2 separate regions of the Homo sapiens genome follow, and region 2 is linked to region 1. The links are contacts of gene promoters, found by promoter capture Hi-C in blood cells and fetal thymus (Javierre and others, 2016). All regions are on one chromosome and are shown on one strand. The core of a region is centred on a gene start or on the middle of the fragment in contact, and the rest is flanking DNA. Distances in the headings are between cores, read along the strand shown.

Region 1 (3,375 bases), core at 365-2,864:
CCTTTACAGTGAATCAGAGCCACTCTAAGGGAGAGTGAGAGGAAGCCCTGGGGTTCCTCCCCTCCCCACTCCACCCTATCTCGGTGCCTTCTTCTGGGGAACCAGAAACACCCTCCAACAATAAAGAGGCCCTTTGAGACGGGGCAGCCCACTGTCACCTGCTAGGACCTGGGAACCCTACCCTGCAAAGAAACTGCGGATCCCCACGAAGGTGGGGAGGAAACCTCCACCCAAGAGGCAGCCAGGGAAAACAGCAGAGATCCCTAGAAGCCCATGTTGGGCTCCCGTTTTGGGCTCTGAGTGAGCCTGTATTGAGAGGGGTCCGGTGGCTGGTTGGGCCATGGCTCCAGGAGTCCCCGCGCTGCCTCACCTTCTGTGCCTGGCTGATCATCTTCCGCACCACCTCTTTGATGTGGGCCTGCCCGTCTATGGGGGGCTGCATGTAGACGCTAGCCCGGGTCACGCCGCGGTAGGCGATGGTGTCGGGCCAGCCCAGGTCCAGCTGCGGGATGGAGCGGTCCGACTTCTGGGGCCAGTACTCCAGGGAGGGCAGCGGCTCGGCCTCGATGGGGACCCCATCCGCCCCGCTGGCTTCCTCGCCGTCGCCGACCCCATTGTCCTCGGGCCCCTGAGAGGGGCCCGTGCCCCGAGGGTCCTCAGAGCCCGGGTCGTACACCTCGATGGTCTCCAGGATGCGCTTGAGCTCCAGCTCCGAGAGGAAGTCTCGGATGTTCTCCCGCTTGAGCACCTCGTAGAAGGCGTCCCGGCCGCGGGCCACCAGGGCCTCCAGCGCCAGCCGCTGCTCCTCGCTGTAGAAGAACTCAGGCTTGGACTCGCTGGAGCGCCAGTTCACATGGTTGTCGTCCAGACACTGCACCTGAGAGAAGGCCATGGCGCCGCCTGCCCGGGCACTGCTGCCGGGGGTGGGTGGGCAAGGTCCAGCTCCTAGCTCCGGCCCAGCTGGGGCACCGCGCGCTCGGGGGCCTCTCCGCGGCCTCTGCTTCTCTGCCCATGAGCAATCTGCGGGAAAGACCTGATGAGCCCGGCTCGGCGGGGAGGGCGGGCCGCGCGGGGAGGGGCGGCGGGGGCGGGGCCGGGAACTCAGGTGGGCGTGGGAAGGACGGGGCTGGGGCTGGGGCTGGGAAGATGAGGTGGGGGCACTGGACTGGGATGGGAAGAAAGTAAGGGATCGGAACAGCGGTGAGGGAGCGGTGGGCCACGTCCCAGGGCTCAGCGTGCCTCTACGTGCAGGGAACCCATATCCCAGATTTCCGGAGCTGCCTGAAGTCCTCGCAACTTCTGAGGGAAACTAGGGCAGCCGGGGAACTTCCCAGTAGCTTCTTAGAGTGGGAGGCGGCCCCGGCACAGAGGCGCCCCGCAAACCGAGGGCTTCCGGGTAAGGGAGGGGTCTTAAAATTTCCGGGTGCCGGCAACCCAGGAGGCCTGCCCGGAGGAGGCTGGGGCTCTGGGAGGGGTCCAGGAGACCCAGAAACGCGGTTGCGGGGCGGCGACGCCCCGCGAGACCCGGGATCCGGGGGGCGCGGCCGGGACTTGCTTACCGAGCGGGCGCTGGCGGAGCGGGGCGCACACGCGGCGGCTGCGGCGGCGGCGCGAGGCTGGGCGGGGGCGCGCCGGTGACTCAGGGCCGCCCCGCTTACCCCGCCGCCGCCACCTGCGGTCACGTGCCGCCCGGGGCGGGGCCGGAAGCTGATTCACCCCTCGACAGACAGACAGACCTGGGGCGGACGCACTGCCCACGGTCCCCTGGTGCCCGAATTCCGAAAATATCAGAGGCCTAAGCCCAAGAGCTCCTGGAACACCCATCCCAGAGAGGGACAGTGTTCTCCCTGAGGTCACACAGCGGGTCAACAGCCTTGGCACCCCCCTGTGCCCCCAGGGTCTGTTGGTGATCCTGGATCAACCCTGGCTGTGCCCAGTTTCGCCGGCGTGGCGGGAAGTCCGTGCGGCTGTATAGATACCCAGCTGTCCAGTTGTGGAAACAGGTCTAGGGTACTGGGCTGGGAGCCCCCAGGCAGGGATAGGGCACTGACTGACCCAAACTCAGGGCTTTCCTGAGCAGATACCCAGTTCTCAGTCCTAAGCCCTGATCCCCTCTGGGAGGGGTCCCCGGACTGCTTCTGCGTGGCGGGCAGCACCCGACCTGAACCCTAGGGCAGGGAGGGGCCAAGAGGGCCGCTGTGGGCTGGGGTCAGGCCCAGCTCTCTGCTGAGCGTCCCCTGGGGTTGGGACCCTGGTTATGGGGAGCGTGGAGACCACATCTGAAGGCAGGCTTTGAGGGTGGGACAGCAAAGCCCATTAAATCTGGCCCAACAAACAGCCCCCACCCCATCGCGTGCCGCAGCCAGTCTGCCCGGCACCAGGCCCAGCCCTTCCTCCCATCCCCCATACTTGCTCTGGATCTGGATGGGGCTGGTTTGGGTCCCGTAAGGATGCTGCTTCCGTAGGCTGGTGACATCTCTAGGCCTTGTGCCCTCAAACCCCCCCCCTCCAAGGCCTTCTCCACCATTCATGGCCCATCAGGACTCCTTGCCTCTGAGTCCACTGCCCTGGGCAATGACTAGCCTCCTAGGCCCAGCATCCTTGTGGTCCCCATCACTGACCCCTCAAGCATGAAGTCCTACACTCTGCCATATAGCCCCCCAAGGGCTTTATGCTACTGAACATAGTGGCCCCTGGGGAACAGGCACACATATTTGCATCCTCCTCCTGCCCCAGGGCCAGAGAGGGGAGGTGATCCCAGCGGGGGAGCCCTGCCTTGAGGGTCCTGAAGACCCATTTATAGCCCCTCTGCTACTGTGGATCCCCTGTAAGACCTTCTCTGAGCCGCCTCAGCTTCTCCCTGTGTTCTTACCAATGCACAGAGGCTGGAGAGTTCAGGAAGGGAGTCCAAGGCCTCACTCCCACCTCCACCACCCCAACACTTCTGCAGTTGATGAGCAGGAAGGTTGTATGCACCCAGTTTTCCCCAGTAGCGACGTTTTGCATAACTATAATACAATAATATCACAGCCAGAAAATTGACACTGGTGCAATCCACAAAGCTTATTTAGATTTCACCAGTTTTTTGTTTGTTTTGGGACAGGGTCTTGCTCTGTCACCTAGGCTGGAGTGCAGTGGTATGTACAATCATTGCTCAATGCAGCCTTGAACTCCTGGGCTCAAGCCTCAGCCTCCTGAGTAGCTGGGACCAGAGACACCATGCCCAGCTAATTTTTTTTCTTTTTTCTTTTTTCTTTTTTTTTTTTTTTTGTAGAGACAAGGCCTCACTATGTTGCTCAGACTGGTCTCAAACTCCTGGCCTCAAGTGATTCTCCCACCTTGGCCTCCCGAAGTTCTGGGATTATAGGCGTGAGC
Region 2 (3,369 bases), core at 100-2,599, 110 kb before region 1:
CCTTGTACATTTTAGTTAAAAACAACATTTTAAATTATGTAATGTGAAAAATCTGAGCATCAGATTCTACCTCCACCAATTCCCAGTGTTTGTTGTTGCTGTTGTTTCTGTGATATGTTTGTTTAGTGGCCACCCTGTGCCAATTCTGTAAAGTCTGTATTCTTTGTAGCATTCAGCCACTGAAGTCTCTGGTTGGTTAGCTTACTGGCCAGCTAATGATTGGACAGAGATTTCCTGAAATGCCTTGAAGCAATAAATCTCCCACTCTCTTCAAGGTCTGTGTGTGTGTGTTTGTGCATGTCTTCAATTCTCCCAGCAGCTTACAACTCTGCCTTAGCCTTTACTTCTTGGTTGCACAGAGCCTTAAGGTCAGCCAAGGTTCAAGGTTAGGGGCTTTTCAGGTCCTTCCTGGGTAAGCGCATGTTCTTTACATGCAGGAATAAGCTTTTCAAGGCCCATGTGGCCATCTCATTCCCCAGATTTTCCTTTTTTTTTTTTTTTTTTTTGTCTAGCCCCTTGTTTTACTCAACTGGTATTGTCACTTCAGGCGGCTGCAGTGTTAAACAGTTGCTGTTGATTGCTCATCTACTCTGGGGATGGGACTATTCACACAGAGTGACTCTAAGTTTGATCATATTCTCCAGCCCTGAGTCTCAGCAAGCTGCCAGATAGGCATAATAGTGATGGTTACCTGAGAATGGGCTTCTTGAGAAGCTCCAAACCTGTTCTTTTCCCACCAGTGGTTGCTAGTCTTCTGTTTCTCATGGCCACCATGATTATGAGGTTTCCAATTTTTGTCTTTTGCAGAACTGGAGAGAGAGGCATGGGAATAATGGAATAATGGGAATGGGGCAAGTTAAAACACACACAGTTTCTTTTTTTTGAGACAGGGTCTCACTCTGATGCCCAGGCTGGAGTGCAGTGGCATCATTATGGTTTACTGCAGCCTGGACTTCCTGGGCTCAGGTGATCCACCTCAGCCTCCCAAGTAGCTGAGACCACAGGCATGCAGCACCATGCCTGGCTAATTCTCATGTTTTTTTTGTAGAGATGGGGTCTCACTATATTGCCCAGGCTGGTCTCCAACTCGTGGCCTCAAGTGATCTGCCCATCTCAGCCTCCCAAAGTGTTGGGATGATAGTCGTGAACCAGCATGCCCAGCCCAAAGTTTGCTCTTTAACAAGATTCAGCTGTTTTTCTTAAACACTCCTCAGATTGTTGCAAGCTGTTGGTTAACTTCCACAGTTATGTAAAAGTTAATTTTTGCAAAATTTTTTAGAGTTTTTCTTTCTTTCATGGAGGAGCAGATTTTTTAGGGTCCTTATTCTGCCATTCTAGAGTGGTGCTTCTCTATAGTGGTGTTGTTGTTGTTGTTGTTGTTGTTTAGACGGATTTTTATACTTGTCACTTAGGCTGGAGTGCAATGGTGCCATCTTGGCTCACTGCAGCCTCCACCTCCCAGGTTCAAGCGATTCTCCTGTCTCAGCCTCCTGAGTAGCTGGGATTACAGGCTCCCATCTTCACACCCAGCTAATTTTTGTATTCTTAGTAGAGATGGAGTTTTCACTATGTTGGCCAGGCTGGTCTGGAATTCCTGACCTCAGGTAATCTGCCTGCCTTGGCCTCCCAAAATGCTGGGATTACAGGCGTGAGCCACCACGCCCGGCCCTCTATAGTGTTTTGAATATCACCTTATATAGCTGTTTTAATAGTTGTTCTAAGTATTTTATTACATATACAAAACATATTACAATATACTGATGTCATTTTATCAGCCTGAGTGAAATATAGAAGTCATACCTCTCTGTGTCTCTTTACTCCCCCTGTTTTTAATATATTTGTCTTAAATATTTCTATACATACATTTATAGCAGTATCAGGCTGTTAGAATTTTTGCTTTTTTTTTTTTTTTTTTTTTTTTTTGAGGCAGTGTCTCGCTCTGTCACCAGGTTGGAGTGCAGTGGTGCAATCTTAGCTCTTGGTAACCTCCGCCTCCCGGGTTCAAGTGATTCTCCTGTCTCAGCCTCCCAAGTAGCTGGGACTATAGGCGAGCGCCACCACGCCCAGCTAATTTTTGTATTTTTAGTAGAGATGGGGTTTCACTGTGTTGGCCAGGGTGGTCTCCATCTCTTGACCTCGCAATCTGCCCACCGCGGCCTCCCAAAGTGCTGGGATTACAGGCTTGAGCCACCACACCCAGCCAGAATTTTTGCTTTTAAACATCAAACATAATTTAGAAAAGTCAGAAATGAAGAAAAGCTTATTATATTTACAGGTATTTTTGTTTCCTTCTTCCTTGCTGATATTCCAAAGTTTAGTTTATTGTTTCCTTTCTGTTTAGAGTACCTCCTTTTGCCGCTTTTAAATAATAGTTCTGTTGGTAACACATTTTGCTGGTTTTCCTTCATTTGAGAATGTCTAGAGTTCCTTTTCATTCTTGAAGGACATCGTTGCTGGGTATAGGATTCTGGAGTAACGGTTCTTTTCTCTCAGCACCTGAAAAGTTTTTGTGTCACTTTCTTTTGGTCACTGTGGTTTCTGATGAGAAGTTGGTTATCATGAATTATTTTTCAAGATTATTTCTTTGTCTTTAGTTTTCAAAAGTTTAATTATGATATATCTTGAGATTGCTTTGGGTTTATCCTGTTTGGTGTTTGCTGGACTTCTTGAAGCTGTGGGTTTATGTCTCTGACCAATTTGGGAAGCTTTCAGCCATTGTCTTTTTGAGTACTTTTTTAGTCCTACCGTCTTTCTCCTCTTTTTCTGGGACTCTTATGACATAAATGTCAGGTGTTTGTTTGTTTGTTTGTTTGTTTGTTTGTTTGAGATGGAGTTTCATTCTTGTTGCCCAGGCTGGAGTGCAATGGCGTGATCTTGGCTCACCGTTGCAACCTCTGCCTCTTGGGTTCAAGCGATTCTCCTGCCTCAGCCTCCCAAGTAGCTGGGATTACAGGCATGCACCACCACGCCCAGCTACTTTTGTATATTTAGTAGAGACGGGGTTTCTCCATGTTGGTCAGGCTGGTCTTGAACTTCCGACCTCAGGTGATCCACCCACCTTGGCCTCCCAAAGTGCTGGGATTACAGGTGTGAGCCACCGTGCCCAGCTGATCTTTTGTTACAGGTCCATGGGATTCTGTTTATTTTTATTTTCTAGTCTTTTATATTTTTATTTTTTAGTGGGTCTCACTATGTTACTCAGGCTGGTCTTGAACCCCTGGGCTCAAGTGATTCTCCCATCTTAGCCTCCAGAGTAGCTGAAACTACAAGCACATGCCACCATGCCCTGCCACAGCCATTGTTCTCTCTGTTGTCCAAATTGGCTAATTTCTGTTGTCTGTCTTCCAGTTCACTGATTCTTTCCTTGAC

Evidence for each region. Contacts are between HindIII fragments. The CHiCAGO score rates a contact against its expected background, and 5 or more counts as called.
Region 2: a fragment that was not itself captured here is called in contact with the fragment with the promoter of FAM83G in region 1 in 1 of 17 cell types (naive CD4 T cells); the score reaches 5.1 in naive CD4 T cells.

What each region holds. Positions count from the first base shown.
Region 1 is chr17:19,003,150-19,006,524 of GRCh38, forward strand. FAM83G (family with sequence similarity 83 member G) reads right to left here and starts at 1,615. Exons shown (of 6, transcript NM_001039999.3): 1 at 1,560-1,615; 2 at 371-1,020. The coding sequence starts at 892. All of the region lies in intron 9 of SLC5A10 (solute carrier family 5 member 10), which reads left to right. RefSeq lists silencers at 1,487-1,786, 3,307-3,375. The HindIII fragment of the contact is 3,596 bases long and covers 1-3,060 here.
Region 2 is chr17:18,896,095-18,899,463 of GRCh38, forward strand. All of the region lies in intron 8 of PRPSAP2 (phosphoribosyl pyrophosphate synthetase associated protein 2), which reads left to right. Among named protein-coding and RNA genes, the nearest start is that of PRPSAP2, 40 kb to the left of the region's middle. The HindIII fragment of the contact is 1,815 bases long and covers 443-2,257 here.